Linked DNA regions of Homo sapiens: regions 2, 3, 4, 5, 6 and 7 are each linked to region 1. Evidence: promoter capture Hi-C in 16 types of primary human blood cells and fetal thymus (Javierre and others, 2016). All regions are on one chromosome and are shown on one strand. The core of a region is centred on a gene start or on the middle of the fragment in contact, and the rest is flanking DNA. Distances in the headings are between cores, read along the strand shown.

What was found. The method cuts DNA at HindIII sites, captures the fragments that hold promoters and counts their contacts. A CHiCAGO score of 5 or more calls a contact.
Region 2: a contact is called between a fragment that was not itself captured here and the fragment with the promoter of CLUL1 in region 1, in 3 of 17 cell types (naive CD8 T cells, total CD4 T cells and naive CD4 T cells). The highest score is 6.9, in naive CD8 T cells.
Region 3: a contact is called between a fragment that was not itself captured here and the fragment with the promoter of CLUL1 in region 1, in 9 of 17 cell types (total CD4 T cells, monocytes, naive CD4 T cells and 6 more). The highest score is 10.1, in total CD4 T cells.
Region 4: a fragment that was not itself captured here is called in contact with the fragment with the promoter of CLUL1 in region 1 in 5 of 17 cell types (monocytes, M0 macrophages, M2 macrophages and 2 more); the score reaches 6.9 in monocytes.
Region 5: a fragment that was not itself captured here is called in contact with the fragment with the promoter of CLUL1 in region 1 in 5 of 17 cell types (M2 macrophages, monocytes, M1 macrophages and 2 more); the score reaches 7.7 in M2 macrophages.
Region 6: a fragment that was not itself captured here is called in contact with the fragment with the promoter of CLUL1 in region 1 in 4 of 17 cell types (M2 macrophages, M0 macrophages, monocytes and 1 more); the score reaches 8.5 in M2 macrophages.
Region 7: a fragment that was not itself captured here is called in contact with the fragment with the promoter of CLUL1 in region 1 in 4 of 17 cell types (M0 macrophages, M2 macrophages, monocytes and 1 more); the score reaches 11.9 in M0 macrophages.

What each region holds. Positions count from the first base shown.
Region 1 is chr18:595,168-599,055 of GRCh38, reverse strand. CLUL1 (clusterin like 1) reads right to left here and starts at 2,068. Exons shown (of 10, transcript NM_001393344.1): 1 at 1,927-2,068. RefSeq lists an enhancer at 1,088-1,587 and silencers at 2,010-2,129, 2,190-2,319. The HindIII fragment of the contact is 7,229 bases long and covers 1-3,888 here.
Region 2 is chr18:136,396-140,283 of GRCh38, reverse strand. No RefSeq gene overlaps it. Among named protein-coding and RNA genes, the nearest start is that of USP14, 20 kb to the left of the region's middle. The HindIII fragment of the contact is 3,960 bases long and covers 1-3,888 here.
Region 3 is chr18:152,860-156,747 of GRCh38, reverse strand. It overlaps LOC105371951 (a long non-coding RNA gene), which reads right to left. Exons shown (of 4, transcript XR_935081.2): 3 at 1,233-1,339. Among named protein-coding and RNA genes, the nearest start is that of USP14, 3.8 kb to the left of the region's middle. The HindIII fragment of the contact is 5,646 bases long and covers 1-3,888 here.
Region 4 is chr18:169,764-173,651 of GRCh38, reverse strand. All of the region lies in intron 3 of USP14 (ubiquitin specific peptidase 14), which reads right to left. Among named protein-coding and RNA genes, the nearest start is that of USP14, 13 kb to the right of the region's middle. The HindIII fragment of the contact is 2,648 bases long and covers 589-3,236 here.
Region 5 is chr18:192,738-196,625 of GRCh38, reverse strand. USP14 (ubiquitin specific peptidase 14) reads right to left here. Exons shown (of 16, transcript NM_005151.4): 6 at 3,726-3,784. Among named protein-coding and RNA genes, the nearest start is that of USP14, 36 kb to the right of the region's middle. The HindIII fragment of the contact is 5,788 bases long and covers 1-3,888 here.
Region 6 is chr18:210,621-214,508 of GRCh38, reverse strand. USP14 (ubiquitin specific peptidase 14) reads right to left here. Exons shown (of 16, transcript NM_005151.4): 16 at 1-3,376. The coding sequence ends at 3,225. Among named protein-coding and RNA genes, the nearest start is that of USP14, 54 kb to the right of the region's middle. The HindIII fragment of the contact is 1,843 bases long and covers 1,148-2,990 here.
Region 7 is chr18:230,380-234,267 of GRCh38, reverse strand. All of the region lies in intron 11 of THOC1 (THO complex subunit 1), which reads left to right. Among named protein-coding and RNA genes, the nearest start is that of THOC1, 36 kb to the left of the region's middle. The HindIII fragment of the contact is 6,171 bases long and covers 1-3,888 here.

The DNA.
Region 1 (3,888 bases), core at 819-3,318:
TTGTAGAGGTATTTGTATCTTTAGCGCTTGTTGAATGGTACTAGCTAATAATTGTACTCATTTCTCTAATTTGCTCACATATTTCAATCTCTGAAAAAGTTGCCAAAAGCTGTTAACAGACAACAATGGACATATTTTTAAAGTTTAGTAAATCAGAACAACATAGGCACATGCTAAAGATTAATTTGGAATCATTTACATATATGCCTTCTGAAAAAAAGAAAGAGGGGGTGCTTTTTTTTTAAGTCCGGAAAAAGGAATGCAACCTATTTCTTGCAAGGGCATATGAGTGGATCTCATATTCTCACACATGGCTTTGTTTTCAAATTCTTCAAAGTGCAGAAATTCTTTTAATTTAAAGGTGAGCCCATGGAAAATCTGGACCAGCTGTAGAAAACCATCCAAGAACTCAGTGCCACAGCCACTTTTTTGGTTGTGACACAAACCCCAGGGTGATCTGACCCTCTGCTCACCAGTGTTGTAAATTATCCAAGAGAGGTACTTCTGTTCCCACTGCTGCCTCCATGGAATTCATTGTCTCATTAGCTGATACTGCCTAGAGGATGTTAGAGAGGAACTCAGGCAGCCTTGAGACTCAAGAGAGACTCCAGGCTGTCGAAAGAAGGAAGACTCACAAAGCGTCTAAATTCAGACCCTTTACACTGGAGAGGAAGACTTGGGAAACAGCCACATCTCACTGTTTGAGGGACCTGGAAAAACAGATCATCGTGACTTTCTTCAAGGTCACGCAAAGTTTAAGTGATTTTTACTGTCCCACATTCCAGCATGTCCTCTTCTATGCATTCATTTCCCATGGTAGTTCATCATTCTCTATTTATGGCATTTTTATTAGGTAACAGTATCTCATCTCTTCCCGATAATTGTGCTGCTGCATATTTTTAGAAACTTTTCCACCCGCCATTGTCAGGGACTGAGGAGTTGCATTAATGTTGAGTTTGAAAATTCTGTTCTTGCATCAGGCAGGTAAAAGTGGCCTTATTAGTATTTCTGTTTTCAATGTCTGGAGAAAAGTCCCAGGGAGAGAAAAACAAGATAAAGCATCATGTTGTCCACTGGTAAAATCTGTACGTGGAAAGTAGGCTAAGCTAGAGTAATCGGTTTAAGGTAGCAGTTAATAGTGTCTGCAGCTCTTTACTTCGTTAACCTCAGTTAACCAGGACCTGGCACAATGGGGATTGAAATCAGGGGGCTTATCCACAGTTTCCTCAAATACTGATTTTATCAAGTTGGGCTGATAATTCCATAAACTGTATGAGCATTGATAGTTAGATGTGATCGTTTTCAGAGTGATTCTTTTTCTGCTTGGGTTTATTTATTTATTTATTTTGAGACAGAATCTCACTGTGTTGTCCAGGCTGGAGTGCAGTGGCGCAATCTCGGCTCACTGCAACCTCCGCCTCCCGGGTTCAAGCGATTCTCCTGCCTCAGCCTCCCAAGTAGATGGGATTACAAGCATGCACCACCACAATCGACTAATTTTTGTGTTTCACCATGCCGGCCAGGCTGGCCTCCAACTCCTGACCTCAAGTGATCGGCCCCCCTCGGCCTCCCAAAGTGTTGAGATTACAGGCGTGAGCCACCACACCCGGCTCCGCTTAGTTTTTGCCAGTAGTTTTGCAGGGATGGTGTGTCTCCCCGCCTCTACCTCCTCCTCCTGTTTTGAAAAAGAGAATAAACGTATTGGAACAGCCCAGGAGATTGCCTGAGTTTTGCTGGCAGCCTCTGAAGCAGCCCACAGTATTTCTACCTTCCCCGGCAAGAACAGTGGCTTTGTTCTGTCCGCGCCGGAGGGGCCGGGCGTCTGCGGAGCTCGGCCTTGGACTTGGGAGCGGCTTTCTCTGGCTCTCCGGAGAAATGGGCAAGAGCGGCGAGGAGAGAAATCTGGGGCCCGGAGGATGTTCTCACCTGTCATTCCTAAGATGCGCTTGAGTGCTGCCCCCTGGAGGCGTCTGTGCCACCGGCTGGAAGTCAGCCGAGGGCACAGGGTGTCAGCAACCTCCAGGGTGGAAACCAACCCCGCGGCCCGGGCCTGCAGGTGACGCAGGGTGGGCGGGGCCTGCAGACGCCGGGTGGGCGGGGCCTGCAGGTGACGCCGGGTGGGCGGGGCCTGCAGACGCCGGGTGGGCGGGGCCTGCAGGTGACGCCGGGTGGGCGGGGCCTGCAGACGCCGGGTGGGCGGGGCCTGCAGGTGACGCCGGGTGGGCGGGGCCTGCAGACGCCGGGTGGGCGGGACCTGCAGGTGACGCCGGGTGGGCGGGGCCTGCAGAGGACCTGCGCGTCCGGATCTGAAGCGAGCAGAGCCCTCTCTACTCCAGCTGAACGGTGATGGTCGTCAGGAAGGAATGTGGGCTCACTGTGGAAAGAACATTCAGTTTTTCAAAAGAAGACAGAAATAGGGATGCTTATGTGAAATTCCTGATTTTTCAAACTTGGCAACTTAATTCAGTTAAAAAAAAAAAAGCATTTCTATGGCAGGACCACGAGTCATAGGTAGAACGCCTTGTACACATTAGAAAGAGAGCCTCGCTCTGGGCAGATAAAGCAGGAGGGGAAAAAAGTAGTGGGTCAAAGGTGCCTCTGAGCAGTTGCTCCCCTGCCCGACTGCTGGGCTTAATGCGATGGTCATGGCTGGATGTCAGCCTCCCTGTGGGGACACTGACACAGCTGCAGCAGCCCTGAGAGAGTCGCCAAGTGGGCCTGCCCATGCCAGGTGCTGTCCTTGGGCCCCAGGTTCACAAACTCTGGATGCTGGAACAGGTAGCCAGAGAGGGCAGGAAAGGCAGTGCAACTTGCAAGTCTACCCTTGTTAAAGGGCCCTACAATTGTAAAATTTCATGCCCCCCATATCCCAAACATCCTCTCCGTATTCCTGGATGATGAACGTTGGCTTGGGAGGCATGTTTACTCTAGGCAATATTTTTCTGAGGTTATTATACTCTGTGTGTGAGGAAGATTCATCTATGTATCCACTTTATCTTTTGGGAGTACATTTCACCTGTTGTTATTTTTAACATCTTCCCTTGATTGACCTGCTCGTGCTGGACCTCTTTAAATTATTTCTAATTCTGACAACATCCTGACAAGGTAATATAATTCCACTTACTTTACAAATAAAGACACTGAGGCTTCAAGAAGTAATTTTTCCCCAGACCAGCTAGGAAATGGCTGTGCAGAGCTTCAAACCCAGGTCTGTCTTACTAGGAGGCTGATGACTTTGATACTTCTACCTGAGATGGCAAAGTCTGTGTCTCTTCTCCCTGACGTCATCTAATGAAGATCTATGCTGTCTGAGCACTTAATGCCTAAGAATCTTCCATTTGGTGCCTTCCCCTTTCCCCTTTTTATATCTTTATAAATTTAACAACAGCTCTTTTGTATAGCAAAGAATGCATCTTTGTGGCACATAACTTTAAAAATAATAACATCACCAGATGCACACATCCAAATGAGTGTGGGTTGCCTTGATGATTAGAGACGTATTCCAGTGAGGCTGTTGCCAGTCACCGTCTTTCTTGTGCTTCTTTTTTAAAGAAGTACCTTCAAAGCCAGTTTACAAAACATTCAAAGAAAGTAGCCTTCTCATTTAGGTGGCATTTACTGTTTTAAATCACGAACGAAAATATCCAGCTTCCCCAGCCGCTCTTTTCATCAGATTTGACCTCAAACAACTTCAGGCTAATTCAAAAAATGAAGCCCAGTCTCCATGGAGAAAGACTTGCCTCTGGAGAATGTTCAGAGGAATGTACTGGAGGTTTTTTGGTTGCCACCAAAATCGTAGTTCCAAAAATGTTCTGAGCCCAGTAGCACCATTGGTTAAGTATGTAACCTTTGAAGGGGACACATTTATTGACTGGGCAATTATCCCCT
Region 2 (3,888 bases), core at 678-3,177, 460 kb after region 1:
GCTCAAGCCTTGGGTATGTCTTTACTAGCAGCGTGAAAAGGGACTAATACAGCATTTAGGTTTCCTCCATGTGTTCTTGTAGCTTGATAGCTCTTTTGTTTTTTTTAGTGCTCCTGTGTGGTCAAGTAATTTCTTATTTGTACATTATATGGATGTAGCATCAATTCAAATATTAATCTCATCCAGAAACACCCCCACAGACACACACAGATTAATCGTTGGCCAAACGTCTGGGTACCCCACAGCCCAGTCAAGTTGACATATAAAATTAACAATCACAACTGTTATGCCAAAAATCATGACTCCACTAAAGTAGGGGAGTCACCTCAACTGAGAGTCAAAACTGAACACAAGCCAGGTGCAGTAGAGCATGCCTGTAGTTTCCACTACTCAGGCAGCTGAGGCAGGAGGGTCACTTGAGCCTAGAAGTTCGAGTCCAACCTGAGCGATATAGAGAGACTCTGTCTCTTAAAAAAAACAAAACCAGGACACAATGGCAGAAAGGAAGTCCTCCCCGCCCCTCAAAAATTGAGATGCTGAGACCAGAAGAAAGGCAAAACAGATGTGGGTGGAAAAATCACAAATGCCCCCAGTCATGAGTCCCGCCATCCAAAGAGAATTGGTCAAGAACATTATGTTGCACTCAATTATATTTATATTTATATTTATGTTAGGCAAGCCCAACAGTACAATCACTATGGAGTGAGCCAGACAATCTTTAACCAGTTTCCCACTACAACCCCAGCTCCTGCTTCTTCATTACCCTCCTTTAATTATATAAACAGGCTGGGCCCAGTGGCTCACACCTGTAACCCCAGCACTTTGGGAGGCCAAGACGGGCATATCACATGAGGCCAGGAGTTGGAAACCAGCCTGGCCAATATGGCAAAAACCCGTCTTTACTAAAAATACAAAAATTAGCTGAGTGTGGTGGTGCGCACCTGTAGTCCCAGCTACTTGGGAGGCTGAGGCACAAGAATCGCTTGAACTTGGGAGGTGGAGTTTGCAGTGAGCTGAGATCATGCCACTGTGCTCCAGCCTGGATGACAGAGCAAGACTCTTTCTCAAAAAAATAATATATGTAAATAATTTTTCAATATGATACTCCTGACATTATGGTAAAAAAGCAACTATTTTGTTAATATTTAATTCAAGAATAACTATTCTGGCATCTCTTCAAATTATGGTACTTAAAACTGAGGCCTATGCATATTTATACTAACTTTTTTTTTTTTTTTTGGAGATGAAGTCTTGCTTTGTGGCCCAGGCTGGAGTGCAGTAGCATGATCTCGGCTCACTGCAACCTCTGCCTCTTAAGTTCAAGCTATTCTTGTGCCTCAGCCTCCTGAGTAGCTGGGACTACAGGCACGTGCCACCATGCCCGGCTAATTTTTGTATTTTTAGTAGAGACAGGGTTTCACTATGTTGGTCAGGCTGGTCTCAAACTCCTGACCTCAGGTGATACTCTTGCCTCAGCCTCCCAAAGTGCTGTGATTACAGGCGTGAGCCACCATGCCCAGCCTACTAATATCTTTAAATATTAGGCTATCTAGTACAATTTGTATATGTATTATATACTTAAATGTGAAAAGGTCTCTACTAAATTTCTGAAATTGATGATTTCATAGCTCTTACACTGAGATAGGGGCCATTTATTTGGTTCTGGAAAATAATTTGGGTGATTCTGGAAAAAAGGTTTTATGATTCCAATATGGAAACACATATGCTTCCTCCAGCCTAATTTGAAATGAAAAGCTGAGATTCTCATAAACTTCCAAGATGCCAGTATCCTCACAAACTCAGATGTGAGCTACTTTTATTTAATTCATTTTTTTTCTGTTTTGTTTTGTTTTGTTTGAGACAGGGTCTTGCTCTGTGGCCCTCTGTGGCTCAGGCTGGAGTGCAGTGGCGTGATCACGGCTCACTGCAGCCTTGACCTCCCAGGCTTGAGTGAGCCTCCTACCTCAGCCTCCTGAGTAGGTAGGACTACAGGCATGTGCCACCATGCCAGGATAATTTTTGTAATTTTTATAGAGGTGGGTTTTCACCGTGTTGCCCAGGTTGATCTCGAACTCCCAGACTGAAAGGATCCTCCCACCTTGGCCTCCCAGAGTGCTGGGATTGCAGGCATGAGCCACTGTGCCTGGACTTTCTTTCTGTTTTAAATATCAGCACACATCCTGAAGTTCATTTTATTGAGTAGTGCATCTTAAAAATATAAAATTTCACCAGGCACGGTGGCTCACGCCTGTAATCCCAGCCCTTTGGGAGGCTGAGGCAGATCACTTGAGGTCAGGAGTTCAAGACCAGCGTGGCCAACATGGTGAAACCCTATCTCTACTAAAAATACAAACATTAGCTGGGTGTTGTGGTGGGCACCTGTAATCCCAGCTACTCAGGAGGCTGAGGCAGGAGAATTGCTTGAACCTGGGAGGCAGAGGTTGCAGTGAGATCGCACCACTGCCCTCCAGCCTGGGCAATAGAGTAAGACTCCGTCTCAAAAAAAAAAAATATATATATATATATATAATTTCATTTTATTTTCTTTAACAAATACATAATGAGATAAACAATAATTTGTATATCACGTACTTTGGAGCAAGATTTAAAACACTGAAGCAGAAAATTAAAGTGGACAACTAGGTGGCAGCAATGGAAATACTGGTTTAAAATCTGCTCCTGTGCAGTTAAGTCATTTCTTAGCGTCACAACTTGCTCTGTCAAAATAACAGTGTTCTTGTTTTCCTACTAGCAACTCACCTGGGAACCACAGCAACAAGACGATAAATTGCTTTTCTTCTAGAAACCTACACACATTTTAACAAAGATTGGTAGTGTGCAGGGTGCGTGGGAGGGAAACAGCAGGAAAAGATGTGGACACCCCCCAAACAACAGACTCTTTTTCAATCATATACATTTTATCATTCCCAATTTGGCCGGGTGCAGTGGCTCATGCCTGTAATCCCAGCACTTTGGGAGGCTGAGGCAGGCAGATCACTTAAGGTCAGGAGTTCAATTTACTTTTGATCCTCACATTCAGATCTCTCTCTCTCTCTCTCTGCCTCTCTCTCTCTCTCTTCCTTGTTGTGAGCCTCGCTCTCTCACCCAGGCTGGAGTGCAGTGGTGCGATCTCGGCTCAATTCAACCTCCGCCTGCTGGGTTCAAGCGATTCTCCTGCCTCAGCCTCCGGAGTAGCTGGGATTACAGGCGCGCACCACCACGCCAGCTAATTTTTGTTTTTAGTAGAGACCGGGTTTCACCATGTTGCCCAGGCTGTTCTCGAACGCTAGAGCTCAGATGATCCACCCGCCTCTGTGAGCCACCTCGCCCGGCCACATTCAGATTTTTTGATTCCACAGAAAAGCTCACCATGTTTAGACTAATATTTCTTATATTAATCATCCCTAGACTTTATTTTCCACCAAACACCTATTTATCAAATCTTTTTTTAATTTTTACTCAGTTTTATTGACTGTAAAATTTGCCATAGTTTCTTGGTTTTGCCTGTAGTGAATCAAAGCAACCAACAGCTATAAGAAAAATTTGTGGCTTTTGCCTCTTTTTTTTTTTTTTTTGCCGGAAACAGCAGCCGGTTTGCAAACCAGTCCTTCCGCCACTTTCAGTGCAGGTGGTTTGTGTGGGTCTGACCTCACGTGACTCTGGTGTGACCAATCAGAACACGGCTTCCCTCTGCCTGTAGTGATTGGTTCAACCAGAGACATGTGACTCAGCTAATGGGAGGAGTTCCCTGGCCCCTGGAATAAGTAGGCAACAGAGATGCTCTTTGTCCTGAGATTGCTACACTTGTAGAACGTAGGCCTGGCGCTGCAGTAAGATGAGGAGACTGTGAGAAGGAGGCCACCCCAAAGGAGAAAAGTGGGCTAGAGG
Region 3 (3,888 bases), core at 789-3,288, 440 kb after region 1:
CTGGGAAAACAAAAACTTTGTGTGACTCATTTTATTACAATATCAGCAATATTGCAGTGGTCTGGAACTAAACTAGCAATGTGTTCAAGCTGTGCATGTAAAATGGAGATACATCTCAGGATTGTTATAAGGACTAAATAAGATTATGTATAGAAGATTCTTAGCACAGTGCATTGCACATGTGCTATGATACCTATTTTATATTACACAGTAAAACTTCAAAGGGATTTTGCAGGGTATGTTAGAATAGCAGGCTATGGATAGCTTTATTTTCTATTTTTTTTATGTTCAGTAACATATTTCTATAACATACATATTTAAAAATGTATTGCATAGATTGCCCGGGCACCATGGCTTACGTCTGTCATCCCAGCACTTTGGGAGGCCAAGGCAGGTGGATCACTTGAGCTCAGGAGTTCCAGACTAGCCTGGGCAATGAAGTGAGACCCCCATCTCTACAAAAAATTTAAAACTTAGCTAGGTGTGGTGGTGCACTCCTGCAGTCCCAGCTACTCGGGAGGCTGAGATGGGAGGGTAGCTTGAACCTGGGAGGCAGAGGTTCCAGTAGCCAAGATTGCACCACTACACTCCAGCCTGGGTGACAAAGCAAGACTCTGTCTCAAAAAAACAAAACAAAACCAAATAAAAATGTATAGATCATCTGTGGAAAAATCTGTGCTGCCCTTTGTTGAAGCTGATAGTAAAGGAGGCCTAAAGATTGAGAGATTCAGAGGCAAAAATCATCATCCTGTCTGCTACACTCACATTGCAACCTGCGCTTTTTTGTTGTTGTTGTTTCTTTTTCTTTTTGAGAGAGAGCCTTGCTCTGTCGCCCATGCTGGAGTGTAGTGATGCAATCTTGGCTCACTGCAACCTCCGCCTCCCAGGCTCAAGTGATCGTCATGCCTCAGTCTCCTGAGGAGCAGGGATTACAGGTGTGTACCACCACGCCTGACTAATTTTTGTGTTTTCAGTAGAGATGGGGTTTCTGCTGTGTTGACCAGGCTGGTCTCAAACTCCTGGCCTCAAGCTATCTGCCCACGGCCTCCCAAACTTCTGGGATTATAGGCGTGAGCCACCATGCCCGGCCAGCTTTTTCTTTAGTAACTCTCATCACACTTCTATTTTTTTAATGTCTGTATTCCCCCAAGTACACTATAAACAGGAATCGTGGCTATCTCGTAGGCACTCAGGAATTACTTGATGCTGTGAGAACTGGATGTGAAAGTTACCTATTTGAAGTTTATTCATCATGTAGATGACCAGGGAATCTTGTAGACCAAGTTTTGGTCCCTTTGGTACAACTAGCTTCTTCCAGCCTCTCTGAAGATCCGCAGACCTAAATTTAAGACAAATGGGGGCAGAGTGAGGAGGTGGAACCATGCTAGCAACTGAAAGGAAGCATAAAAAGAAATTTGCACAACTGGCCTTCCTAAACGTCAGAGTTAAAGATGACAGCGACCTCATCGCCATGACACACATTGCTAAGCCCTGCCCTCCATGTGTTTAATGGATGGGATTTTCTTCTTAAGGGTGACTTCTTTAATGAATAAATTGGTAAGATCTTAACCTGCATGTTTATACATAAATAAGTTCTATAAAACATAGCCAAATATCAGAAATGTTTTCACTTGGTGAATTACCTACAATTTATTGCTTAGAATGTACCCTCCTTCCTCATCTGGCCATGGGAAATCCTGTCCAACTTTAAAATCTCCATTTAATGCTAACTTTTTCACATAAACTGAAAGCCTTCTTATACAATCACCCCTTTGTGTCAAATACTATTATGTTTTATTATGGCTGATTTAGTTTCCTATGAGTGCTGTAATGAATTATCACAAACCTAGTGGCTTAAAACAACGTAAGTTTATTATTATCTTACAGTTCTGGTGGTCAGAAGTCTGAGACTGGTCTTAACATTAAGGTGTTGGCAGGACTGCATTCCTTCTAGAGGCTCTGAGGGTGAATTCTTTTTTTCTTTTCTTTTTCACACAGAGTCTCACTTTTTTGCCTAGACTGGAGTGCAGTGGCACCATCTCAGCTCACTGCAACCTCCGCCTCCTGGGTTCAAGCGATTCTTGTGCCTCAGCCTCCCAAGTAGCTGGGATTACAGGCACGCACCACCACGCTAGCTAATTTTTGTATTTTTAGTAGAGACAGGGTTTTGCCATGTTGGCCAGGCTGGTCTCGAACTCCTGACCTCAGGCGATCCACCCGCCTCGGCATCCCAAAGTGCTGGGATTACAGGAGTGAGGCACCGCACCTGGCCTCTGAGGGTGGATCTATTCCTTACCCTTCCCAGATTCTAGATACTGTCCACATTCCTTGGCTCCTGGCTCCATTCCAGCCACAGCATCACTCCAACCCCTGCTTGAGTCGTCATAGCGCCTTCTCTGACTCTGACCTCTGCCTTCCTTTTAGAAGGTCCCTTGTGATTACGTTAGCCCCAACTGGATAATTCCAGATACTGTTTTCATTTTAAGATCCTTAATCACATCAGCCAGTCCCTTTTGGAAGACAACCAAGATAATCATAGGTTCAGGAGATTAAAACATGGACATATTTGTAGAAGTATTTTTCTGTCTACCAAGGACAGACAATAAATAATAAAACAGAAAACAACAAATATCACTACACCTTCTTAGAGCATCTACAGTTTAATATTCCTATGTTTCTCTCTTCTCTCTCTACTAAATTATAAATTATAAGCCCTACCAGGTGTAGTGGTTCATGCCTGTGATCCCAGCTCTTTGGGAGGCCAAGCGGGGCAGATCACATGAGGTCAGGAGTCCGAGACTAGCCTGGCCAACATGGTGAAATTCCAGCTCTACTAAAAATATAAAAAATTAGCCGGGCGTGGTGGCATGCGCCTCTAATCCCAGCTACTTGGGAGGCAGGGGCAGAAGAATCACTTGAACCCAGGAGGCAGAGGTTGCAGTGAGCCAAGATTGCGCCATTGCACTCCAGCCTGGGTGACAGAGCAAGACTCTGTCTAAAAAATAAATAATAAATAATAAACTATAAGCCCTGCCTTAAATAATTTGGAATCCTGCCGGGCACGGTGGCTCATGCCTGTAATCCCGGCACTTTGGGAGGCCGAGGCGGGCGAATTACTTGAGGTCAGGAGTTCGAGACCAGCTTGGCCAATGTGGTGAAACTCCGTCTCTAAAAATACAAAACATAGCTGGGCATCGTGCCGGGCACCTGTAGTCCCAGCTACTCGGGAGGCTGAGGCAAGAGAATCACTTGAACCTGGGAGGCGGAGGATGCAGTGAGCTGAGATCACACCATTGCACTCCAGCCTGGGCAACACAGCAAGACTCTGTCTCAAAAAAATTAATATAATAATAATTTTGGATCCTACACACACATATACACACCATATGCATACGCACACACACACACACACACACACACACACACACACACACATTCTATAACCTAGAACGGTAGTTTGCCTAAAAAGGTTTTCAATAAGTATTTCCTGGCCAAGTATGGTGGCTCATGCCTGTAATCCCAGTGCTTTGGGAGGCCGAGGCAGGAGGATAGCTTGAAGCCAGGAGTTTGAGACCAGTCTAAGTAACAGAGACTTTGTCTCTACAAAAAAAAAAAAAAATTAAAAACAGTAGCTAGGCAGGGTGGCTTGCCCCTGTAGTCCTAGCTATTTGGGAGGCTGACGCAGAAGGATCACTTGAGCCCAGAAGTTCATGGCTGCAGTGACCCAAGATTGCACCACTGCACTCCAGCCTGGGCAACAGAGTGTGAGACCCAGTCTCCTAAAAGATTTTTTTAAAAGTATTTCCTAAATGAATTCATAACCTAGTTTTGGGTCAACAGATGATGCAAATTATATTAGGTGAATGCTATGCTGCTATGGCAAAGGTG
Region 4 (3,888 bases), core at 663-3,162, 430 kb after region 1:
CAGGAGTTCAAGACCAGCCTGACCAACATGGAGACCAGTCTGACCAACAACATACTAAAAAAAATACAAACAATTAGCTGGGTGTGGTGGTGCATGCCTTTAATCCCAGCTACTCAGGAGGCTGAGGCAGGAGAATCTCTTGAACCTGGGAGACGGAGGTTGCGGTGAGCTGAGATCACGCCATTGCACTCCAGCCTGGGCAACAAGAACGGAACTCCGTCTCAAAAAAACAGACAATATAGGCCGGGCATGGTGGCTCAAGCCTGTAATCCCAGCACTTTGGGAGGCCAAGGCGGGCTGATCACGAGGTCAGGAGATAGAGACCATCCTGGCTAACATGGTGAAACCCCGTCTCTACTAAAAAAAATACAAAAAAAATAGCCGGGTGTGGTGGCAGGCACCTGTAGTCCCAGCTACTCGGGAGGCTGAGGCAGGAGAATGGCGTGAACCAGGAGGTGGAGCTTGCAGTGAGCCGAGATCGTGCCACTGCACTCCAGCCTGGGCAACAGGGTGAGACTCCGTCTCAAAGAAAAAAAAAAAAAAAGACAGACAATATATCTAAATGTAACAGCTAAAACTTATCAAGCTTTACAAGAAAACAGAAAAAAAAAATCTTGTAAACTTGGCACAGGCGAAGATTTCTTACAACATAGTACAAATCACTAAAAAATGTGATCAACTGACTTAGATAAAATTATCTTCTATCCAACAAAAGAGTATTACATAGATTAAAACACAGGGATACCTTGAAGATATTACAGTTTGGGTTCCAGAGCATGAGAAAGCAAATATCGCAATAAAGCAAGTCACACAAAAATTTTCCCCCAGTGCATACAAACATCATGTTTATATCAGTCTGTGAAGTATGCAACAGCATTATGTCTAAAAAGGAATGCACATACCTTAATTTTAAAATAATTTATTGCTTAAAAAAAAAAGCTGACAATCATCTAAGCCTTCAGTTAATGATCTTCTTGCAGGTGGGGGGTCTTGTTTCCAAGTTGATGACTACTGACTGATCACGGCACTGGTTCCTGAAGGCTGGGTAATTGCTTAAAATGAGACAACAATGAAACCTGCCACGCTGACTGACTTCCTTTCATGAAAGAGTTCTCTGTAGCTTGCGGTGCTGTTTAATAGCATTTTATCCACAGTAGGACTTCTTTCGAAACTGGAGTCAAACCTCTCAAATCCTGCTGCTGCTTTATCAAGTAAGCCTACGTAATATTTTAAATCCTTTATTGTCATTTCAACAACATTCACAGCTTCTTCACTAGGAGTAGAGTCTATCTCAAGAAATTACTTTCTTTGCACATCCATAAGTTACCTCCTCATCTGTTCAAGTTGTATCATGAGATTGTGGCAATTCAGTCACAATTTCAAGCTCCATTTTTCTATTCTTTTTCGTTTTTTAGATACAGGGTCTCACTCTGTCACTCAGATTGGAGTGCAGTGGCACAATCATAGCTCACTGTAACCTCAAACTCCTAGGCTTAAGCGATCCTACTGCCTCAGTCTCCAGAGTAGCTAGGACTACAGGTATACACCACCATGCCCAACTAATTTTATTTTTTGTAGAGACAGGGTCTCACTGTGTTGCCCAGGCTGGTCTCAAACTCCCAGCCTGAAGCTCTCCTCCTGTCTCAGACTCCCAAAGTGCTGGGATTATAGGAGTGAGCCACCATGCCTGGCCACTTCTAATTCTAGTTTCTTCCTATTTACACCACATGTGCAGTTGTATCCTCAACTCAAGTTTTGAACTCCCCAAAGTCATCCATGAGGGTTAGAATCAACTTCTTTCAAACTCCTGGTAAATACTGACTTCATTTTAACTTCCTCCCATGAATGCTCCTAATGGTATCAAGAATTCAGGTGAATCCTTTCCAGAAGGTTTTTAATTGATTTTGCCCAGATTCATGGAGAAATAACTTTATAGGGAAACTTTAGCCTTACAAAATGTATCTCTTAAATAATAAAAGTAGAAATTACTGATCCATGGGCTGCAGAATAGTTGTTGTAGCAGACAGGAAAACAACATTCATCTCGTTTATGTCTCTCAAAACTCTTAAGTGACTAGATGCATTGTCAATAAGCAGTAATATTTTGAAAGGAATCTTTCTGAGCAGGAAGTCTCAATGGTGGCCTTAAAATATTCAGTACTCCATACTATAAACAGACGTACTGGCATCTGGGCTTTGTTGTTCCATATACAGAGCACAGGCAGAGTAGATTTAGCATCATTCTTAAGAGATCCATGGTTTTTGGAATGGTAAACGAGCATTGGTTTCAACTTAAAGTCATTAGCTACATTAGCCTCTAACAAGACAGTCAGTCTGGCCTTTGAACCCAGGCACTGACTTCTCCTCTCTAGCTATGAAAGGCTTAGACAGCATCTTTTTCCAATATCAGGCTGCTTCATCCACACTGAAAATCTGTTGTATAGTGTAGCTACCTTCATCAACAATCTTAGCTAGATCTTCTGGATAACTTACTGCAGCTTCTCCATCAGCACTTACTGTTTCACCTTGCACTTTTATGTTACAGAGATTGCTTCTTTCTTTAAACCTCGTGAACCAACTTCTGCTAGCTTCAGTTTATATATATATATATATATATATATATATATTTTTTTTTTTTTTTTTAAGTTCCAGGGTACATGTCCAGGATGTGCATGCTTGTTACACAGGTAAACATTGTGTCATGGTGGTTTGCTGCACCTATAGACCCATCACCTAGGTATTAAGCCCAGCATGCATTAGCTATTTATCCTGATGCTCTCCCCACATCCCACTGCCTGACAGGCCCCCGTGTGTGCTGTTCTCCTCCCTGTGTCCATGTATTCTCATTGCTCGGCTCCCACTTACAAGTGACAACATGCGGTGTTCGGTTTTCTGTTCCTGTGTTAGTCTGATGAGGACAATGTAGCTTCCTCACCTCTCTCAGCCTTCACAGAATTAAAGAGAATTAGGGTCTTGCTCTGGTTAGGTTTTGACTTAAGAAAATGTTGTGGCTAGTTTGATCTTCTATCCACACCACTTAAACTTACTCCATATCAGCAATAAGGCTGCTTTGCTTTATCACTTGTGTGTTCATTGCAGTAACACTTCAAGAACTTATCTTTTAAATTATAAATTTCCTTTGAAAACTGGACCTTTGTATTCACAACTTGGTTAACTGCTGCAAAATGCCTAGCTTTTGGACTGTCTTGGCTTTACACAGGCCTTCTTTACTAAGCTTAATCATTTCTAGCTTTCTGTTGAAAGTAAAAGACATGAAACTCTTCCTTTCTCTTGAACACTTAGAGGTCACTGTAGGGTTATTTATTTATTTATTTATTTGTTTATTTTTGAGACAGAGTCTCGCTCTGTTGGCCAGGCTGGAGTGCAGTGGCATGATCTCAGCTCACTGCAACCTCCATCTCCCAGGCTCAAGCAATTCTCCTGCCTCAGCCTCCCGAATAGCTGGGATTACAGGCATGTGCCACTACGCCCGGCTATTTTTCTATTTTTATTTAGTGGAGATGGGGTTTCACCATATTGGCCAGGCTGATCTTGAACTCCTGAACTCAGGAATCCACCCGCCTCAGCCTCCCAAAGTGCTAGGATTACAGGTGTGAGCCACCGCGCTCAGCCTGTAGGGTTATTAATTGGCCTAATTTCAATACTGTCTTGTCTCAGGGAATAGGGAGGCTCGAGAAGAGGGAGGAGGGAACTGCGGGTCGGTGAGGCTGTCAGAAGACACATTTGTCGATTAAGTTTGCCATCTTACAGGTGTGATTCATGACACCCCAAAACAATTACAAAAGTAACATCAAAGATCAACATACTTGACATGAGAGTAATGAAAATGTTTCAAATATTGCAAGAATCACCAAAATGTGACAAAGAG
Region 5 (3,888 bases), core at 422-2,921, 400 kb after region 1:
AGCAAACATTGCCTTAGTAAAACAGTCACATATTTAATACACGCGACTGTAAATTAATTTTAATTAATACAAACAAAAACTTACTTAATTTTTTTTTTTTTTGAGATGGAGTCTTGGTCCGTTGCCCAGGCTGGAGTGCAGTGGCGCGATCTCGGCTCACCGCAACCTCCGCCTTCTGGGTTCAAGCAATTCTCCTGCCTCAGCCTCCAGAGTAGCTGGGATTACAGGCACACGCCACCATTCCCGGCTAATTTTTTGTATTTTTTTTTTTAGTAGAGATGGGGTTTCACCATGCTGGCCAGGCTCTGGTCTCCAACTCCTGACCTCATGATCCGCTCACTTCAGCCTGTAACCCCAGCTATTCGGGAGGCTGAGGCAGGAGAACTGCTTGAACACAGAAGGGCCTCCCGAGTAGCTGGGATTACAGGAGCATGCCACCATGCCTGGCTAATTTTTGCATTTTTTTTAGTAGAGACAGGGTTTCACCATGTTGGCCAGGCTGGTCTCGAACTCCTGACCTTGTGATCCGCCAGCCTCGGCCTCCCAAAGTGCTGGGATTACAGGTGTGAGCCACCACACCCAGCTGCTTAAACATTTTTAAGTGTATCTACTCTTTGACAATTGTTGGACTCTCAATAAGAAAAAAAAAAATCCTTTTTAAATCTTAACTCACCAGAAGACCTTACAAAGCAATCACTAGCTGTAAACAACTTCTGAGCCCTCCCTCTCTCTTTCTTCTTGCCAGCCTTTGTCTTCCCAAACAAAGCAGGGTGTTTTAATTCAGTACAAAGAACACATAACCTCTGTTTAGGGACAAACAGGCATAATGTAATTGTTCTGCTACTCTGCCAAGATCAGGATAGCGGGTCACCTCTCCCAACTTACCTCCCTTTAAACCTATAGTTGGTTCTCATCTACTCAACTCCTGGAGATTTAAATCTGGGTCCTTAAACAGCTGACTCTACTGGACAGCTAAGAACCAAAACTACTAAGAATTTACCTTCTTCAGAAAACCTTCTTTCCACTTACCCCTCTCAGCAGCATGAATCTCACAGTCATGGACTAGTCTGTTCTCTTGGATTTCGAACCATTTCTCCTCTGCGGACTTCCTAGTGATCATACCTTGCCCTCCTTCATGTACAGCAAAACTCTTCCTCTAGCTTATCTCAACTTGTATGTTTTATTAATACCCAAGATGTGAAATGTCACCTATCATCATTATACAGACTGAACCCACCAAATACAGCATCTTAGCACAAAGCAGGGGCTCAATAAAATGTTCCTGAATAACAAAACTGAACACAATGTTTAAAAAATATTTTTGGAGGGAAGGCTGAAATTTGGGCATCACTACCAAGCTAATTATTTTTTTAAATAAAAGCCTACATTTTAACAATATTTTATACACTACTCAAAAAAACAGATGATTTAAGATCTAGTATATACCATCAACAGAGCATCTCAAAAGTATTTCATTAGTTTGAAAGAAAAAGGTCAAGAAGAAATATAGATTAAAAGAGACTAATAAGATATAACAACTAAATGCAATGTGGGATCTTAAACTGAATCCTGAAGAAGGAAAAAAAAAAAACTTTTTTAATGGACAATACTAGGACAGTTGGCAAAATCTGAATAAAGACTGTATTTTAGGGTACTGTGTGAAACTCCCAAATTCTAAAAAAAAGTTTGTTTTTTGAGACAGTGTCTCAGTCTGTTGCCCAGGCTGGAGTACACTGACACAATCTCAGCTCACTGTAACCTCTGCCTCCCAGGTTCAAGCGATTCTCGTGCCTCAGCCTCCCGAGTAGCTGGGATTACAGACATGCACCAACACACCCGGCTAATTTTTGCATTTTTAGTAGAGACGGGGTTTCGCCATGTTGGCCAGGCTGGTCTCAAACCCCTGGCCTTAAGTGATCTGCCCGCCTCAGCCTCCCAAAATGCTGGGATTACAAGCATGAGCCACCGCACCCAGCCCAGATTCTGAAAATTAAGAATTGTCTTGTGGTTATGAATGTCCTTATTGTTAGGAAATACATACTGAAATATTCAGGATGTCTGGCGCCTTATTCTAAAATGGTTCAGAAAAAAATTACATGCATAACGGAAAAATGAGAAACCAAATGCGACTAAAAGTTAGTAACTGGTGAATTCTTACAACTTTTCTGTAAATTTAAATGTATTTCAAAACAAAAAGTTAAAAAATCAAGAAGCAAAAATGTAAAGAACAGTATTTTTCATCGCATCAATACTATTAGCCGCATATATGATGCTGCAGAAGCTGCTGAAATTCTAAGTTATTCTAAGATACATGAGCTGTCAAATGAAGTAGATATAAATGATCACACTTTCTCACTAAAAACTTCATTTCAACAAGTAAGTCTACTTTAGGAAAAAAAGTTAGAGTAAAATCTCTCTAACTGCAAATGACACAAAAGAAACCTGTTTATAATATCAAAAATCAATGGTTGACAACAATGAGATAACACTTCATACCTCTTGGATGGCTATAGTCAAAAAGACATACAATACTAAGTACTGGTAAGGAGACAGAGAAATCAGAACCCTCATACCCTTCTGGGGGAAATGTAAAACGGTGGGACTCCTTTGGAAAATTCTGGCAGTTCCTCAAAAGGTTAAATATAGTAATCATATGACCCAGTAATTAACTCCACTCCTAGATGCATACCAAAGAGAAATGAAAGCATTTGTCCACACCAAGACTTGTACACGACTGTCAGGAGTATTTGTAATAGTCGAAAAGCAGAAACAACCCAAATATCCACCAACGATGAATGGATAAATGATATGTGGCTTGTCCATACAAGGCACTCTTATTTAGCAATAAAAAAGAATGAAGTACTGATACATGCCATAATGTGGATGAATCCTGAAAACATTATACTAAGTGAAAGACACCAGTCACAAGAGACTACATATTATTTAATTCCATTTAGAGTAAAAGTCCAGAGTAGGCAAATCTAGAGAGAAATAACACATAGATAAATGGGTAGGGCTAGAAATGGGAAAGGAGGTGACTGCTAGATGTTATGAAGTTGCTTTTTGGAATGATAATGTTCTAAAATTAACATTTTAGTAATATTTGCACAACTCTGTGGATAAACTAAAAAACAATGAATTATACACTTTAAATGGGCAGATTTTATGATATGTACACTATATCAATAAAGCTGTTAGAGAGAGAGTAAAAAAAAAGGCATGGCTGTAAAACCCTATTGACCTAACCCAAAGATTTAACAGTATTAAAATGTCCAAAATTAGGTGGGGGTTATATTCTCTTATGCAATGAAGAAACCAGTTATTTCTATCCTTTAAGATTACTATTTCTCCTCACACACATCACTTCTTTACACCAATATTCACTAAGACCCTCTTTTATAATGATACATGGATTATGATAAAACCCGTCGCTGGCTATCCCCAGAGTCAACCCCAAAGATATGTATTATACAAATCAAACCTGAAGCCAAAATTATAATTTAATCCAAAAAAATCCAAAGATTATTTTTCACAAACGACAGACATCATTGATTTATAATCTGGACGATAAAATAAGTACCAAGTTGTTTAACTTAAGTATAATGTACACTCCAGGCTTAATGAGGTGATGTTTTACAAAAGACATTCTGTAAACTGCAAAGGATTGTGAGCGAAAAATAGAATGTCTTACTCCTATCAAAAAGTAGTATATTTAGTATACAAACCTGCAGTAATATACTGCGCTGAAGCCATTTCCCCTGAAGCTCTCAAGGCACCTGCATACCTAGGAACATTAAAGCCGAGTTAAACAATAGAATTCAATTCATTCTAACACTCAAATGGGAAGAAACCAGTTAAAAGGAGTTCTTATGACACCCTCAACTGCAA
Region 6 (3,888 bases), core at 820-3,319, 380 kb after region 1:
TCGGCTGGTGCTCTGAGAACAATAGAACACATATTGGCTCAAACCAGAGTTTGGGGAGGTTGGGTTGAGATAATGACCTAAACGAAGTGACCTCAAGATCACAAAATATATTTTTTTGTTAAGTAGATGTATTTATAATGAAGTTAAATAAGCACTATTTAGGGATATGTCGTTTCTTATACCAAATTAGTTTCCTGTGTGTTGTTTGTTAGTAGTTTTACAAAATTTATCCTGAAATCCCAGAATAACACTTTCTGAAACCATATGACTGCTCTGTTCTCACTTATTCGTGCTTTCAAGCAGAGGATCAACAAATGATGGTTTGTTCTGCCTGCCACGAGTCTTGATCATTAAAATTGTACTGGCACCCAGCTGTGCTCACTCATAACTAACTAACTAACTGTCTATGGCTCCAGCTACACTATAACAACAGCAAAGCTAAGGAGCTGCAGCACTTTATAGCCTGCAAAGCCTGAAATAATTTACTATCAATCATCAATCAATCATCATCTATCTATCTATCTATCTATCTAATCTATCTATCTTGTCCATTACAGAAAATGTTTGTTTGCCAACTTTAAAAGAAATGAAGTCTAAAACCTCACTTTTCCTTCTAGCCTTACAAAAATTGCCTGACCTCTCAAGACTTTTAATCACTTCAGGGATTCTTGTGACATTCAACTGAGATATATGTGAACACACCCTATACACAGCAAAGCACTAAGTAGTAGTAGCAGAAGACAGTACCACCGACTTTTCTTGTTCCCACATAAGCATTTCCCTTTAGGGCTCTAAGATGAGGTCATCATCGTTTTTAATCCTGAAGAAGGGCTACTGAGTGAGTGCAGATTATTCGGTAAACACTCTTAGGCCTAACCTAGCTAGTCAGTCAAGCAGTAATCTAGCACAACTCTAATGTTGAGATGATGGCCTCGGTGTGAGTGGCACAGCATATAAGGCACATTCAGGAATCAAGACTTTTTTTTTTTTGGCCTACTCCTCTCCCTTCTCAAAGACCTTACAGGCAAGGCTGAATTCTAAAATAGCCTTATTAGTTAAAAACAACACTGGTATAACTAACTCCCATTTCTACTTGAAAAAATTCTTTGGAATAATGCTTTTTTAGATCAAATAAAAAAATCAAGCTTTTTATAATGATGATAAGGAATTAATTACAATTTTTAAAATTCTAATATAGTCCATACAAGGCTTATATACTTTGCTCTAAACCTAGCTCACCTGGTCTAGTAGCTACAACATTTAGTAGCTACAGTCAGAAAATCTAAATTCTAATTGTTAAATTCATGTCCTCAATAAAATTGTTCTGACCAAATGAGACAATGAATAAAAAAGACTTTGCAAAGTTACAAGCATCATACAAATATACATGAATCATTATAATTTTCATGGTCTCATCCTGCCCATTCTATTCTTAATCCCCTCCACAAAGTAGAAAGTATTGATTGCCAAGTCAAAGTTTAGGTGAGGAAGCTATTTACAAATAAGTTTCCCTGCAATGCTTATTTTATCCCCTCCTAGTGTTCACAGATTGCATCACATCAGATTTGAAAGTAAAATGGCTGTTATTTTCTATTTTTAATAGTTATCATCAGTGTTGTGCTCTGCCGAGCATTAAAACAACATACACAAAGATATGAGATGTTATGATAATCCCCAAACTTTATTATAAATAACTCAAAATCAGAGCCAAACTGGCTGGTATTCTATGCTTTATCCTTTCCCTAGCATCAGTCAAGGGTCCTGGAACAAAGATGAGTAACTATTAAAATGTAAGAAGCCTATCATATTGAAATACCTCATATGCTTGGTATTTTCTACTATCACTTTAAAATCACTAAAATTCTGAAACAGACATTAAGATTTGGGAATTTTTTCTTTTTTTTTTTGAGACAGAGTCTCTCTGTCACCCAGGCTGGAGTGCAGTGGTGTGATCTCAGCTCACTGCAACTTCTGCCTTCCAGGTTCAAGCAATTCTCCCACCTCAGCCTCCCAAGTAGCTGGGATCACAGGTGTGCACCACCACATCCAGCTAATTTTTATATCTTTAGTAGAGACAGGGTTTCACCATGTGGCCAGGCTGGTCTCGAACTCAACCTCCAGTGAACCACCTGCCTCAGCCTCCCAAAGTGCTGGGATTACAGGCGTGAGCCACCGTGCCCAGCCAAGATTTGGGGAATTAAGAAAGGAAATACAAACACAACTGAGCCAAGGAAAGAATCTGACTGATAACATCACTGCATTCAGCATCCAAAGAAATCCATTACTTTTACAACTTTGTATTTCTTTTTAAAATACAGGCAGGCAAAGAAGATAACAAATATTTTTAAATGGATGCTTAACAGCACAGTGTTAATAACCATCTTCAGAAATTGTACAGTATTAAACATGTCTTCAGCCAAGCTCCAACACTCAGAAGACAAAAGACTTGAGGTCAAAAGCTATTAATCCCTTTTTTTTTATTATTATTAAATGTCCTCATTTTCTAAAAATAAGCAACCAGAGCTTGTCAACATTTTCTTAAGACTGATTATTACAAAGCCATTCCAAAGTTAAATGTACAATCCACAGTACATCAGAGAGAGACACAATAATAAATGTATAATCAAAGGTACTATTATTGATCACAATTTATTTTAAAGTCAGGAAAAGCCTGCAATAGGCTGGACAAATACTTGATTGTGCCCATGTTTCCATGGGATGGACAGCAGCACTGAGTCACACAATGAGAGCAACACTTCCTTTTCCACCTTCCTGGAAAAATGTTTGTTAGATAAGGCAAAGGATGGGTGGCTACAGAATGGTGGTTTGAACCATGCAAGAACAGCAAATAATAGGTAATAGGTGTGCAGTAAACATCTGACTGCTGAATCTTGGGTGAAAAAGGCAGCAAGAAAAATGACCACAGAAGGAAATGGTTGAAAGGCATTTCAACTCTGAACTTTTTAAAATAATGCAAGAAATAATAAGCTTTTTAAAAATGTCTTTCTGCCACCTTTATATAGGGCAGCACAATCCAAAGATAATTTTCTCTTCTCTGTAATTTTTTAGGTTGGTGCACAGAGTGGTCTGCTTCTGTCCTCTTTTGTTCCAAATGAGGTGAAACATAAACCCACCTATGTGTCTTCCTCTAAAGCTCTGGATTATAGAAATGATCAACAAATAACATTTATTTTCACATCTAAGCATAAATACTAAAATGAAGATTACTGTTCACTTTCCTCTTCCATTATTTCAACTCTGCGAGGCCCATAGAGTAGAACGTAAGCGATATGCCAGTCTCCACCACCAGAAAGCCGTAAGATATCTTCTGGTGTTACGATGCTGACTTTGTCATCATCAAACTTAATCCATTCATCTAAATAACAGGGACAAGAAGATGAATTAATGTTATGCAGGATTCGTCTCAGAGTTCCACTGCAAAAAAAGTATCAAGTCATCGGAGGCACAGCAGTGCTCCACTGGCCACACCAACAGTCCTCCAAGTGCGACCCAGTGACCACACAGGCTTAAGGGCACTGCAGGGGTTCCACCAGGTTACAACTACTTCAATGACACCACTAGAGCACTGCTTGCCTTTTCCACCCACATTCTCTCAAGTGTACTCTGGAATTTTCCAGAGGCTACATAATGTATGATAATGCAACAGACTGAATGCGAACACTAACAGGAGAACCCAGCTGCCTCCTATTTAAGCCAGACAACAGAAAGACATAAAAATGTAAATCAGTACCATTTCTCACTCATTTTGTTTTTACATTAATATGTAATGGGCTTATTACTATCATTTTTAAAACTAACTTTCTTAATTTCTCAGTTTTAATTTCTAATACAGTAAGTATTAAGAGAGGCAAACCTCATAAACCAAAG
Region 7 (3,888 bases), core at 636-3,135, 360 kb after region 1:
GAGTAAGAGTTATAAGTATTGGAAAGAAAAGAGTAAACTATCCCCATTTGAAGACAATATAATTGTCTACAGAGAAAAGTCCAAGAGAACCAAGAAACTGTTAGAACTAATGAAACTTCAGCAAGATTGCAAGAGAAACATCAATAGTGTTCTTATAAACCAGTAATCAATTACAACATGTTATTCAGAATAGCAGTGAAAGCTCTCCAATACCTAGGCGTAATCTTCATAGAGAAACATTACAAAAATGGAGCAGTGTTTCTACATTTATAGATACAGACCCAGTGCCCCTTCTCCCCAGATTTATTGATTCAGTATATTTTGAATCAGTATCCAAATGGGTTTTTTAATTTGAGTTATACCCAAAGGAATATAAATTGTTTTATTATAAAGACCAAATGGGTTTTTTCATGGGAACTCAAAAAGTTAGTCTTACTATTTCTATGGAAAAGCAAAGAGCCAAGAGTAAGAAAACCATGAAGAAAGCGGGAACACTTGCTGTGTCAGATATTAAGACCTATACAGCAATAGTAATTAGGGCAGGTAATTATTAGTACTAATATACAGAAGAAGAAAACTAAAACAATAGAAAGTCCAAATTGTAGAAAAGGTTAATATACAAAAGAAGATTGCATTATAAACTAGTGAGGAAAGGATGAATTATTTATTTATTTGTTTATTTTGAGACAGAGTTTCACTCTTGTTGCCCAGGCGAGTGCAGTGGCGCGATCTTGGCTCATCGCAGCCTCCACCTCCTGGGTTCAAGTGATTCTCTTGCCTCAGCCTCCCGAGTAACTGGGATTACAGGCATGCGCCACCATGCCCGGGTAATTTTATATTTTTAATAGAGACAAGGTTTCTCCATATTGGTCAGGCTGGTCTCAAACTCCCAACCTCAGGTGATCTGCCCGCCTCAGCCTCCCAAAGTGCTGGGATTACAGGTGTGAGCCACCAGGCCTGGCCTATTCTTAATAAATGTTGCTTGGACAATTCATTATCCATATGGAAAAATTAAAATTCAGTCTATACCTCAGTACAGTCAATTCTAGGTTAATCAATTCCAGGTTAATTGAAAGTATGAATGAGAAAAGCAAGACTTTTAAACATTTAGAAGAAAACATGAAATATGTAAATTTGGAGTAGGGAGAGATTTCTTGAGCTACAAAAAGCACAAATTGTGAGGGAAAAATATCAATTTAGTATTTAAGATTTAATATTAAGATGTAAAAGTCTTGAATAGCAAAAGATACCGTAGGCAAAGTAAAAAGACAAGGCACAGACTGGGAGAAGATTATTTGTCACCTACATAACCGGGAAAAATTAGTATTCAAAATATTCCATTGATAAAAGACAACCAAATGGAAAACTGAAAAGATGATAAGAAAAAGTAATTTAAAGATGTAGAAAACTGAATAGTGAATGAGCTTATAAAAGTTGCTAAGCATCTCTAGTGCAGATAAAATATGAGATAACCATACACTTAGCAAACTGGCCAAAATTGAAAAGCCTAACAATACTAGTATTGGCAGAGATGTGGGAAAATGAGAACTTTTATACACTGTTGAAATATAAATTGAATCAACCACTTTGCAGAATACTTTTGTAAAAACTAGTGAAGTTAAAATTTGTTCCTAAATATGGCCCCCTACACAGGACCCACATACACAAGGAAATCTCTAAGAAGATTCACTGTACCATTGTTTGTAAATGATGTATTTGTAAATGAAAGTTTAGAAACAGTGTCAATGTTCACAAGCAGAAGACTGGGTGATAAGATAATTTTACGTGACAGTTCTATAAAGCACTGAAAATGGATTAATTATAGCAGGGGTTGGCAAATCTGGCCTATCATCTATTTTTGTAGATAATTTTTATTGGGCCAGGTGCAGTGGCTGTAATCCCAGCACTTTGGGAGGCCAAGACGGGAGGATTGCTTGAAACCAGGAGTTTGAGACCAGCCTGAGCAACAAAGTGATACCCCCATCTCTACAAAAAAATTTTAAAATGAGCTGAGTGTGGTGGCATATGCCTGTAGTCCCAGCTACAGGGGAGGCTGAGGCAGGAGAATCACTTGAGCTCAGGAGGTCAAGGCTGCAGTGAGCCATATTCATGCTCCTGCATTCCAGCCTGGCTGACAGAGTCAGATCCTATCTCAGAAAACAATAAATAAGAATAATAATTTTTATTGGAACACAGCCACCCTCATTCATTTAGATTGTCTCTGACTGCTTTTGCTCTGTAACAGCAGAGATAAATAGTTGTGACAGAGATATATAGTCCATAAAGCCTAAAATAGTTTCTGGCTGGTCCTTAAAAGATTTGCCAATCCCTGAACTAGAGCAACATGTATTAAGATGGGTAAATTTCAAACATAGTGTTGTATGAAAATAGCAAATTGCAGAATAGCACATAATGTGTAGAGTTTGAAACAGTGCAAAGTACATCCATATATTATTTATAGATGTTTACATATGTAGTAATATAAAATGTGTATAAAAATCCTAACCGTGAAATACATGGTAGTGGTTACCATAGTAGAGGGAGGGAGGGAAATAGGAGTGGGGAGGGTTATAGAGGGAGCTTCAACAATGTCTATGATATTCTGTTTCTTTAACAGATATGTAACAAGTAAAAAATGTTAGGATTTTATATGTAGCTGGGTAGTGGGTACATGAATGTTGTATTACTTAACTATACCTTTTTGAACATTTAAAATATTTCATAATTTAAAAATTGGATAATTTGATCTCAGCTGATGTGTTATGACAGTTGGTAAGATTTTAATGAGAATGTTCTGAATATTTTCTAGCACATGTTTTTTATGTATTTTGTGTTAAATTGATAGAAATGGAAGATTTCATACACTTTAATTTTACCCAGGAATATTATTTATATGTAAAATTGATTGACAGAGAGGCATGTAAGGATGACTAAAATGAAAAGCATGAGCCTTTTTAGGGTTAGAATATCGGGAAAACTGAGGCCTGAGCTAAGATGTGCCATAAAAGCTAAGGACAGTAGCCTAGTCCAGTGATGTATGCCTGAAGTTCCAGCTATTTAGGAGACCAGGGCGGGAGGATCACTTGGGCCTAGGAGTTCAAGTTCAGCCTGGGCAACATAGCGAGACCCTTCTGTACTAAATACATACATACATACAGCTAAGGATAATAAAAGCCCTTTGCTCAAGATACAAAGACATTTACAAAGAAACATTTGGGCCAGGCATGATGGCCTACACCTGTAATCCCAGCACTTTGTAAGGCTGAGGCTGCAGGATTGCTTGAAGTTCAAAACAGCCTGGAGTTCACAACAGCCTGGGCAACAAAGTGAGACTCTGTCTCTACAAAAAATTTAAAAGAAAAAAATTAGCTGGGCATTGTGGCATATGCCGGTGGTCCTAGCTACTCAGGAGGCTGAGGCGAGAGAATTGGTTGAGCCCCTGAGTTCAAGGCTGCAGTGAGCTATGATGGTGCCATTGCACTCCAGCCTGAGAAGCAGAGTGAGACCCTGTCGCTAAAAATAATAATAATGAAATGTTTGACCCATGACATAGTGTAAATGATATAATTTTTTAAATAACCAAAGAAAAATGGAACTAGATAGTAGATATTATGAAAGAAAGGGTACAATTGAGTGTATTAGTTTTACTCTCAGCTGTGTCACTAACTAGCTGTGTAATCTTGCCTAGGTAGTTTTAACTTTTCTGGACCTAGTTTCCTTAAGTATAATGTGAAGCAGTTAGCTTGAATCACATTAGGTCCTTTCCACCCCTGATTCAGTGTTTTGTTGACTCCTATTTTCAATCCATTGTTTCTATCAAGGAAAATCTTTCAACATAAAAAAATAAAATGAACAGCTAGTAAGCATCACCTAGCCACTTTGGTTCGT